Regions from separate parts of the Homo sapiens genome. Here region 2 is linked to region 1. The links are contacts of gene promoters, found by promoter capture Hi-C in blood cells and fetal thymus (Javierre and others, 2016). All regions are on one chromosome and are shown on one strand. The core of a region is centred on a gene start or on the middle of the fragment in contact, and the rest is flanking DNA. Distances in the headings are between cores, read along the strand shown. Region 1 holds the start of ALKBH8 (alkB homolog 8, tRNA methyltransferase). Region 2 holds the start of RAB39A (RAB39A, member RAS oncogene family).

What was found. The method cuts DNA at HindIII sites, captures the fragments that hold promoters and counts their contacts. A CHiCAGO score of 5 or more calls a contact.
Region 2: the fragment with the promoter of RAB39A here is called in contact with the fragment with the promoter of ALKBH8 in region 1 in 1 of 17 cell types (monocytes); the score reaches 6.3 in monocytes.

Annotation. Positions count from the first base shown.
Region 1 is chr11:107,561,537-107,567,393 of GRCh38, forward strand. It overlaps ALKBH8 (alkB homolog 8, tRNA methyltransferase), which reads right to left and starts at 4,199. Exons shown (of 12, transcript NM_138775.3): 1 at 4,065-4,199. RefSeq lists enhancers at 3,550-4,068, 3,872-4,361, 4,069-4,585, 4,432-4,491. The HindIII fragment of the contact is 7,705 bases long and covers 1-5,857 here.
Region 2 is chr11:107,924,987-107,930,791 of GRCh38, forward strand. RAB39A (RAB39A, member RAS oncogene family) reads left to right here and starts at 3,462. Exons shown (of 2, transcript NM_017516.3): 1 at 3,462-3,809. The coding sequence starts at 3,583. RefSeq lists silencers at 3,198-3,687, 3,718-3,937. The HindIII fragment of the contact is 18,255 bases long and covers 1-5,805 here.

The sequences.
Region 1 (5,857 bases), core at 2,949-5,448:
TTTAAAAACTGTATGTGTCATATATTTTATATCTACAATTTTTTAAATAACAGAATCCCAAAGAGGTCTCTATAATCACACCATCCAAATCAGCACCCAATATCATGCTTTATCACACTTTATCACAGTAGTCTTTTATTTTGTTCACAAAATGTAACATAATTTGTGATGATTCATCTGTTAGCTTAACTCCTCCATCATGATATAAATCCCAAGAGAGCAGGAATGCCAGCACATAGTAGTTGCTCAATAAATATTTGATGGTAGGGCTAAATGAATAATAAATGAGTGAATACACACAGTCTCAGCACCCTGCAGCATGCAACCATAATAAAGTACATAGTTTATGCTTTCAACAAGTTTGTAACTTAGTTGTGGAAAACAAACACTAAACAATAAGACTATGACACATCTTTATATAATTTAATGCTGATGGTACAGTCTTTAGGTATGACACAAATTAGAGACAAAAATAAGATGGATGTGGGCTGGGAGCAGTGACTCACACCTGTAATCTTTAGGAGGCCAAGGCAGGCAGATCACTTGAGGTCAGGAGTTCAAGACCAGCCTGGTCAACATGGTGAAACTCTGTCTCTACTAAAAGTACAAAAAATTAGCCACGTGTGGTGGTGGGCACCTGTAGTCCCAACTACTTGGGAGGCTGAGGCACGAGAATCGCTTGAACCCGGGAGGCAGAGGTTGCAGTGAGCCAAGATCATGCTACTACACTCCAGCCTGGCAACAGAGTGAAATTCCATCTCAAAAAAAAAAAAAAAGTATGTAAACTGGAAAAGTTGGGAAGGCCTCAAAACAGGAGATTTGTGCCATGTACTGAAGGATAAGAACACTATAGAATCAAATAAAAAGGAAAGTATTCAGTGAGGCAGTAAAGAGCAGAAGCTAAAACCAAAATGGACATGTTTGGCCAAGACACCAAGACACAGGCATAATTTTTTTAGACCGGTCCCACTCTCTGCGGACTTTAAAGTCTTCAAAGTCAACCAAATATACAAATTTGGGGGTTAAATAAAATCTTATTTATCTTATTTCACATGAAATCATAAACAGTCAAAATTCTAATTACTAATCTTTAGTATAGAAGACAAATGCCAAGTCTCTTAAAATGCCAGCAGTCCAGCTTCCTAGCACAGGGGGTACATACTAGGATGTAAGGCCAGTGAGGCAGGCAGGCTGGCTGGCAGCATAGCAGAGAGATGAGAGGTAAAAAAAATAATAATAATAATCCAGCTTGTTAATTAGAAATGCTGGCCTGATCTAGGCTGGGGGCAACAGAAAGAAGCGAAATAGGGGGAGAGGAGAAAGAGGAAGGGTGAGTGAAAAGTTCAGGCGGAATCAAGAGGCCTCGATGACTACCCAGATATGAGGGAGACAGGAATCAAAGATTACTTGTTAACCAGTTAGAGGCTGAGTGACTAAGAGATGAGTGCTACCACTTCAAAACTGGAAAGTCAGGAGGAGGTTCAGGAAGAGCTGCTCAGTATAGGAGGTAATGAGTCATATTTAGGATAGAATAATGTTTAAGGTATTGTGAGATACAGAGTTGCAATGTCTGGCTGGCAAGTGACAAAATAAAGTGGCTCCTAGGAAAGGAACTGAGGTTAAAAAGGTTTAGGAGTCAGTCGTCATTAAGACAGGAAGGGGATAAGTGAATGGACATGTCTAACATTGCATTAATTATAATTATTTGTTTTAGTATCTGTCCCCTTCCACTGAACTGTGAGCTTTCTGAAGGCGGGATTAAATCACACTTTTCTTAGTTACCACAGAGCCTCATTCAGTGCTATGAGGTAATATAATACAGTGTTTAGGAGTCCATGTTCCAGGTTCAAATCTCAGCTCAACCACTGATTATTAGCTGTATAATCCTAGATGAGTTGGTTATATAGCTCTGTGTTCCAGTTTCTTTATCTAGGAATAGGGATAAAAATAATAGTGCCTATCCCATAGCTTTCTTAGAATTAAATTTATTTATTATTATTTATTTATTACTGTTGATTTTCAGAAGCAGCAGATCAAAATGGCTTAACAAAACAAAGAATATCTGAGGCCCTTCAAAGGAGCTATTTTAGAGCCATTCCATTTCAAGATCTTCATCTGTGGAACAGCAACTTTGCAGTATGTCATGGAGAACAAGGGATGACTGCACTACAGAATTTTTAATATTTCACATGAGCAAACACTGCAAAGAAGGAATGAGAAAGAAACGATGCTAAATATATCTTTTTAAAATGTCTGCCACTAAGAGTCCAGCACCAGCAGGTGGAGCCTCATAACCACATTTTTGTCATCCCTTTCCTTTTTCTCTCCCTCAGTCATGCAATATTATTGCACGTGAAGAAAGACACTAAATGGCCTTTGAGGCTCAGTTTTCCACCATTCCAGTGGCTAGGCAATGTGCTGGCCCAACATATCTGAGTCATCTCAACAAGGATAGGCTGATACCAGCTGCTGAGGTCTGGAGGTGCCCCCTTCTGACAAAGCCACTTCCCTGGCCAGAGTTTCCACTAATGCACAGATACTTGGATGCTCCCTGTGACATTACTGGAGTGAAGTCACTATTAACTATGATACTAGCCATGCTGAGTCCGGTTCAGCCAGCTCCAGCCTAAGCGTACTCTCTGTGGGATAATGAAAGTTTGGAGATTATGCATGCTCTGCTACTTGCTTGTTAGTGAGTTTAAAGCCAATATATCCTACTAGATATTGCCCTACGTGGTAATAGTAGTATGTACATCATGCCCTCCTTGAATAATAGAGAGCCTATTATGAAACAAGCAGTATAGACAAATGTTCCTATACTTATATGTTTAAAAAAATGCAAAAACCATGATTACTTTTGCACAACCTAATAATTAATAGCAAAGATTAGAAAGAATCTAACTTCCTATCAAACGAGGCCCAATTTTAACGTACGGCACTGGTATACAGAGTTTACATATAAATCTTTAGGACACACAAGAAATTGGTGATATGGGTTGCCTCCAGGGAAGGAAAATGGATCGATGAGTAAAGGAATGAAAGGGAGCTTTCTTCTTTCATGACTTTTGAAGTTAGTAGCTATTTAAACTGCATCATCTATTTAAAAAGAAAATAAAGATTTAAAATTTTTAGAAAAAAATTCACCCCATCACTTGTCACGGCACCCCGTTTTAACTCTTTGAATAACACTTACTACATATTTTCTTACACTCTCATTAATTTGTTTATTCTGTCTTTCCCCATAACTGAATAAAGAACACTCACTCCATGAAGTAGAGATTTTGTCTCTATTGTTCACCCTGTAGCACCCAGCACTTAAACAGGATTTAGCACCTAGCAGCCACTCAATAACCATTTGTCGAATAAACCTAAATCGACTTTGCTGTCTTACCTCCTAAACCTCCCCTCCTCCAGAATTCTGAGTTTGGTGGCCTTCTTCAACGTTTTCATTAACACCTAGCATGGACCTCTATCTCTAGAGTTCTCACATGGTATTATAATTGCCTGTTTGTGTTGGGCTTCGGCCAGAAAACTGTCATCTATTTAAGGGCACAGACTTGGTGCCTGACATACAACTGACAATAAATATTCAATGAAATCTATCAAAATAACAGGCTGACGCTACCAGAGGTCCAGGAGTCGCAGGGATTGCTCAAATAAGAGCACAGGAAGACTCAGCTGCGCAAGGGATCAGATCATCAGCACTGCCTTTGCATCGATGCAATCAGACCGATTGTCACCGGTCAGAAAAGCCCCAGAAGCGCCACACTAACACGCCCCATGTTGCAACCGTCCTCTCCAACCCCAAAGAAAACAGAAGATTGACACAGGCACCACGTGAGCGCCCGAACCAAACACAAACACATGCACCCTAAACACTGAGAGAACCACCCAACGCAGACACCCTACTGCCCACACTGCACCAAGGGCGCCTCTGGGATCCATCCCCTTTCCCTAGGTTCTCAGCCCTAGCTGGCAAGGCGGATAGAGAAGACCGGAAGAGGCTGAAAAGAGGAAGCGGTGATTTGCTGCCCGTATGCCCGCCAGTAAGAAGTGCCACACACCTCCGCTTCGGCTCAGGCCGGATTCTCACCATGCGTGTGCCTTCTTCTTTGCCAGCCTCTCCACTCTAGCACCAGAACACCGCAGCGGATACTTGCACGCCATCTCCCCTGGGCGCGGCCATGTTGGAGAAAACTGCACTACATTTCCCATGAGCCCGCGGGACAACGAACAGCGCTCCCACAGTCCTCTTCGCCTCCCAGAGCCCGGGAGTGACCCTTTTTCGACCAAGTGTCTTTGTAAAGTGCTGTCTGTTACACTGAAAATTCAGTTGTCTTTTTGGGGGGAGTAGTAATAATTGGTAGTGCAGCTATATTTTTATCTGTTGCTCTCCAAATGGACAAGGTCAAACAGGTTTGGGCCCTTTGGTCTTTCAGCAATGTCCCCTGGCACCTTCTATTCTTCGTGCATATTTCCTCCTGAATCTTATTAGAGGTGAGAAAGGAAAATAAATCTTGGTGCCACAAAATCACTAAGCTAAAGGGAAAAGTCAAGCTAGGAACTGCTTGGGCAAACCTGCCTCCCATTCTATTCAAAGTCATCCCTCTGAGTCATCCCTCTGCTCACTGAGATAAATGCATATCTGATTGCCTCCTTTGGAAAGGCTCATCAGAAACTCAAAAGAATGCAACCATTTGTCTCTCAGCTGTAATACGTGCGACCTGGAAGCCCCCTCCTCACTTTGAGTTGGCCCGCCTCTGCTTCAATTTGTCCCTCCTTTCTGGACGGAACCAATGTTCATCTTACATATATTGATTGATGCCTCATGTCTCCCTAAAATGTATAAAACCAAGCTGTGCCCCGACCACCCTGGACACATATCATCAGGACCTCCTGAGGCTGTGTCACGGGCGGGCGTCCTTAACTTTGGCAAAATAAATTTCCTAAATTGTCTGAGACCTGTCTCAGATATTCAGGGTTCACAGAGATATGGGAGAGGATCCTGGGGTCTGAAAGATGGCATTGCATGGGCGGGAGGGAAGGAAGTGAATATGCATGAATGTGCCAGGGGAATGGTGAGTACCACAGAGTAATAGAAAGATGTGTGGAAGAATGGTGAAGGAAGCAAGACAGAATTCTGTAGGCCTGCAGAGTGGGAGTTGCAGGGAGGAAGGTTAGAGAAATGAAATGATATGACCAGAGCTTCTTGTGGCAAGTGGGAGGAGAGACTAGAAGATGACTGATGAAGTGAAAAGTAACGAAATATTAACAAGCCCAGTAGTGGCAGAGGGAAAGAAAAAAGAGCTGGTAACAGATCATAAGTAAAAGACAAAGGAGAGGGTGATGATTAGCAGTTGTTCCTGCTCTGTTATTTGTTATATAAATGTACCATAATCCTTCTACCTGCATTGGTTTATGAGCTATGTGAGTGCAGGGAGGGAAAGGTGTAGGGGAAGAGGAATCACCTTCCCATGTTGTTGATACAATGGCCCCTATCTGCAGTGCACCACAGTGGACTAACAATAAAATAGCTGGCTGACCAGGAAAAGTGGCAGTGAAAAAAGAGTGCTGTTGAGTGGCGGAATGATTTGTGTGGAGAATAGGTTACAAACATGAAAGAACAGAAGAGGCAGATAGGCAAGCATTGCAATAGTCTAGGAAAGAAAGGGTGAGACCAAAACTTAATAGTAAAAATGAGGAGGCAAGTGCAAGCTGGAGAGGTCAAATCCACCAGACATTGCAAGCTACATGAGTATAAGAGGACACACAGGAAATCTCCCCATTGCAATTCTGCTTCTGCACTACTGGATGCTTTCAAAAACACATCCCCATAGAGCTTTCTGCAATGATGGAA
Region 2 (5,805 bases), core at 2,212-4,711, 360 kb after region 1:
ACACTCTATATCTTTAGAATAAGTGCTCTCATCTTTTAATATCACCCTAACTGAAGTTTTTTTCAAAGAATCCTAACCAACACAGATACGTAGAGTCTGAAATGCATATCCAATATCTAAGAGAAGTAGTTGGAAATGCGGGTCCTGAATACAGAGCAGAGATTGGGGGAAGACATTTGATATGGGTAAGGGGGTAACTGAAGTCACTGGAGTACATGAGGTTGCCAGAAAAAGCCCAAAGTGAAGGTAAAAGTGGGGAGAGGGAAAAGAGATGAAGGAAGGATCTCTTAAGATCTTCAGTATTGAAGAAATGAATCATAGAAAGAGGAGTCATTGAAGAAGGTTAAAAAGAACAGAAAATTAGGAGAGAATGCTTTTGTGGAAGCCAAGGAATAAGGGTGTTCAGGTTGTGCTTACAGAAAATTCAGTCATGGCCAGGTGCAGTGGCTCATGCCTGTAATCCCAGCACTTTGGGAGGCCAAGGGGGGTGGATCACTTGAGGTCAGGAGTTCGAGATCAGTCTAGCCAACATGGTGAAACCTTGTCTCTACTAAAAATACAAAGATTAGCTGGGTGTGGTGGCCCACGCCTGTAGTCCCAGCTACTCAGGAGGCTGAGACAGGAGAATCGCTTGAACCCAGGAGGCGGAGGCTGCAGTGAGCCAAGATCGCGACAGAGCAAGATTCCGTCTCAAAAAAAAAAAAAAAAAAAGGAGAATGACAACTAAAACTAGATGACACTGCAGTGGGGTGGTGGTGAGGATGGTGGGGGTGGGGGCTTGGATTTAATAATTAGGATGTCCCTGACAGCCTTATCAAAAGCAGTGGTATATTAGGCACAGAGAGTATGTTAGGGGTATATAAGCCTCCTTGAAGACTAACTGGTAGATGAGAAATGATAATAGATCATCATTTCTGATATTTGAAAAGGAGAATGATGGAGGAGTCAACAATCTGAAGGGGAAGCGTAATGAAGAGGTGTTTTGCTTAGTTTTAGAATTGTAGATAATTGAGCATGTTTATAGGCTGAGGAGCAGAAGCCACTGGAGAAGGGGAGATTCAAGGTATAAAAGGTATGAAATAAAAGTCAACTGTTGGGAAAAGCCCCAAAAAGATAAGTGAAAGGGGATTAAACACAGCCAACACCAATTCCTCCAAAACAGCAAAGGAAATAGGGATGAATATCGATATAAGAATTTGGGATGTGCACAAGAAAAAAGTGGAATTGTTGAAAATTTTGTTTTGGTAAACACACACTTTTTTTTTTGAGACGGAGTTTTGCTCTCGTTGCCCAGGCTGGAGTGCAATGGCACAATCTCGGCTCACTGCAGCCTCCACTTCCCGGGTTCAAGCGATTATCCTGCCTCAGCCTCCCAAGTACCTGGGGTTACAGGCATGTGCCACCATGCTTGGCTAATTTTTGTAGCTTTTTTTTTTTTTTTTTTTTTTTGAGACGAGGAGTCTTGCTTTGTCGTCCAGGCTGGAGTGCAGTGGCACCATCTCAGCTCACTGCAACTTCTGCCCCCCAGGTTCAAGCGATTCTCCTGCCTCAGCCTCCCGAGTAGCTGGGATTACAGGCGCCTGCCACCGTGCGTGGCTAATTTTTGTATTTTTAGTAGAGAGGAGGTTTCATCATCTTGGCCAGGCTGGTCTTGAACTCCTGACCTTGTGATCCACACACCTCGGCCTCCCAAAGTGCTGGGATTACAGGCATGAACTACTGCACCCGGCCATTTTTGTAGTTTTAATAAAGACGAAGTTTCGCCATGTTGGCCAGGCTGGTCTCGAACTCCTGACCTCAGGCGATCTGCCCGCCTCGTCCTCCCAAAGTGCTGGGATTACAGGCGTGAGCCACTGCGACCGGCCTAAACACACACTTTTATTTATTTATTTATTTTCTTTGAGATGGAGTTTCGCTCTTGTTGCCCAGGCTGGAGTGCAATGGCACGATCTCAGCTCATCACAACCTCTGCCTCCCGGGTTCAAGCAATTCTCCTGCCTCAGCCTCCCGAGTGGCTGAGATTACAGGCATGCACCACTACGCCCGGCTAATTTTGTATTTTTAGTAGAGACGGGGTTTCTCCATGTTGAGGCTGGTCTCGAACTCCTGACTCAGGTGATCCACCCGCCTCAGCCTCCCAAAGTGCTGGGATTACAGGCGTGAGCCACCGCGCCCGGCCTAACACACACTTTTAAACTGTTTCACTTTTTAAAGATAAACCTTGACGTCACTATTACTCAATTTGAGGAAAGGCACAAGAAAGTAGTAAGATCTCACCAGAATTTAAGTTCTGCTTTGTTTACTTACATCATTAATCAGACATGAGCTAAGAGACCACCTGTTCGCTTTTTTCTGACTTAAACAATGGAGACCAAGGAGAGCTGAAAATTTCATGAGCTTCTCAACATTTCCCCGGCTTTTTTTTTTTTTTTTTTTTTTGCCACTGTCCCCAGGGTTGGAGGGCCCCAGAGGGTATGGGGATGATACTTGGCGTTTCTCACTCTTCTGTGGTACTCATAGCAGTGAAGAACAGACAGTGGCAGCACGCAGCAACAGCCAGAGCCCTTGCTAGAAGCACCCAGAACTGGCTGTGCAAATTTATTTCAATCCTGCCCAAAACTCCTTCACCTTAAAATGCCTTGGAGGTGGCTCTCATCAAGACAAGAAAGCAGGGTGTGGTGGCTCACACCTGTAATCCCAGCACTGGGAGGCTGAGCCTGGAGGATCACTTGAGGTCAGGAGTTCGAGACCAGCCTGGGCAACACAGCAAGACCCCATCTCTACAAAAAGTTAGAAAATTAGCGGGATGTGGTGGCCCCCGCCTGTAGTCCCAGCTACTCAGGAGGCTGAGGTGGATGGATCGCTTGAACCTAGGAGTTTGAGACCAGCCTAAGCAACATAGCGAGACCACATCTCTAAAAAAAAAATTTTTTTTTAACCCAGAAGAAAATTAGCCAGGTGTGATGGCTCACACCCGTGGTCCCCGCTGCTTGGGAGGCTGAGGTGGGCAGATCGCTTGAGGCTGCAATGAGCCGAGATCTCACCACATCAATCCAGCCTGGGGGACAAAAAAAAAAGAGGAATCAAAGCAATGACCCAAGTTATGGCCTCAGGGACTTCCAAAATCAGAGCCCTAATCTGACCAACCCGCCCTGACGCCTGTAAGAAAACGACTCTCACTTTTCATTGGCTGACCCTCCCGGAGTTGAGACCTTGCTTCATTTTCCTTGGTTGTTGCTGCTGTCACGTCTTCCCGCCACGCCCACTTTCCTGCCGGCGCCCAGTGAGCGTTGAGGGAGAGTGATTTGCAGCCGGTCAGGGGCGGGAGTTCGCGGCAGCAAACCTGCTTCCCCCTCCCACGCGCCACCGCCCCCGCCCCGCCCCCGTCCAGAGGCCCCGCCCCTAGCCGGGCCTGGCCCCGCCTCTCTCTCCCGAGAGGGCGGGCACCAGGCGGCGGCCGCAGCCGCAGGAATATGCTGGAAGGCGGCGGGCGGGCGCCCGCGAGGTGCTGAAAGGACAGTTCCCGCCGCCGAACTTAGCCCGCGGGTGGGGCGGCCCGGGAGCCAGCGGGGCACGTGAGCGATGGAGACCATCTGGATCTACCAGTTCCGCCTCATCGTGATCGGGGACTCCACCGTGGGCAAGTCCTGCCTCCTGCACCGCTTCACCCAGGGCCGCTTCCCCGGGCTGCGCTCCCCCGCCTGCGACCCCACCGTCGGCGTGGACTTCTTCTCCCGCCTGCTGGAGATCGAGCCGGGCAAGAGGATCAAGCTACAGCTCTGGGACACGGCGGGACAGGAGCGGTTCAGGTAGGGACCCCGGGGACCTTGGGCACCGCGCCGCCCCCTCAGCCCGCCCGGACGCCCCTTCCCCAGGCGTCCGCCCCGCCGGCCCTGGTCGGGAGAGGCTCTGGCCCTTCCCTCTCGAAAGTGCAAACACTCCATTCTCGCTTCCCCTTTGCCCCTCCTCTTCCAGGGACGACTTCCTCCTCCGCAATTTCTCACTTCTTTCTTTGGCGCCCATTTCCTGCGCCCCCTTTCCATCTTTCCTTTCCCGCCTGAACCGGGGTCGTCCTCGCCGCCCCCTCTTCCCCAACTCTTTCAGCCCCTGTGGGTATTTTTATCCCCTCCGGCTCCCCGGCTGCCTTCTTCCCAAACTCGGCTTCCCTGGCTGCGCACAGCATGACCCGACCACCCTCCTCCAAGCAGGCGCCCCTTTTCCTACCCTAACCCAGCGGCTCCCACGCTGTGTGGCCGGGGAGAACCGCGAGGGAGGGTTCCCAGATTCGTGATGGATCCTTTAGCTTCACAGCAAGGAGCGCTCCAACCCAGGTTCCTGCATGAGCTCACTGGGCATGGTTCACAGAGAGGTGGATGCGGTAATGGTTTGGGCACCTCACAGCACTGAATGTGGTCATCAGAAATACTGGGTCATGACCCGTGGGAATGGGTCTTGTAGGTTAACTAGATGCAACATCAGGGACACTGGCACAGCTGAGGGTGTGTGTGTGTGTGTGTGTGTATGTGAAGGGTTGAGTTGTCTTTAGAAGTTTGTCATGTTTGGTGGGAAAAAGACATATATTGAGATTCGCCAGGAACTTTAATTTTGCTTATGATCAGTACTTAACGTTCCAGGGTGATAATATTTCTAAAGACAGAAGGAGGGATCCAAATGAATAGTCTCCTCCTAAATATCCGCTGGGGACATGAAGGGTTTCACAAAGGCGACTTGTGTAAATAAAAAGTAAATGAAATTATATGCATTTCCTGAATATTTGAGATGGAAGCAGGTTTAAAGCAAATTTTAAATGTCTAGGATTCAAAGGCACTTCGTTTTAGAGGAAGATGGTGAAACTGATGTATTGTACTGTTCTGTTTCTTAAAGACTGCATTATCCATTGGAACTCATTTAAGGAAGCATTTTGCGTTAGTCAGCAAGTACTCTGCTTGTGAAATGCAGTGTTCCATGAGGGGACTTCCCAAACATGGCTTCCCCTCGCCCCCAGCCAGCATCACTGCGAATGAGATCAGCCTACATCTGTGAGAATGGTCCAACATTCAAAGTTTTGGCTTCCGTTCCTAGCAATGATGCTGATTCATAGAGATAATGAGTGAACTGCTTAGCTTGCTTATACCTTAGTTTTCGTGTGTGTGAAGTGGAAAGATGGTAAGGCCAGCGCTTCAGAGAGGTGTTAAAAGATTATTGATTGGATTTGTACAACACGTAGAATTCCATGAAAAATGTTTTTCCTTTTCAAGAAGCCTCCTTTTATTAAAATAATTTTTCAAATGTTTGATTCCTCATCTGTAAAATGAAAGTCGTCGTGATCTCTAACATTCCTTCCAGTTTTACCATTCTAAGTTGATTGCCAATTCCTTCACATGTGATCTCAATCAGAGGTAAACTTTGCGATATATCAGGCTCAGAAAAAAAGCATTTGCTGTTAGCTCTTGACCCCCCCTCTGAAGTGAATACAATAAAAACCTTTATGTCTTAAACTTCTAACAGCTACTTTGAGTTGCAACTACAAGACACATGGGTAATAAAATCTTATTGTGTTTAATTAGTTCCTTAAAAGTAGCTCAACTTGGCTGGGCAGGGTGGCTCACGCCTGTAATTCCAGCACTTTGGGATACTGAGGCGGGTGGATCACAAGGTCAAGAGTTCAAGACCAGCCTGGCCAATAAGGTGAAACCCTGTCTCTACCAAAAATACAAAAATTAGCTGGGCATGGTGGTGTGTGCCCGTAGTCCCAGCTACTCAGGAGGCTGAGGCAGGAGAATCGCTTGAACCTGGGAGGCAGAG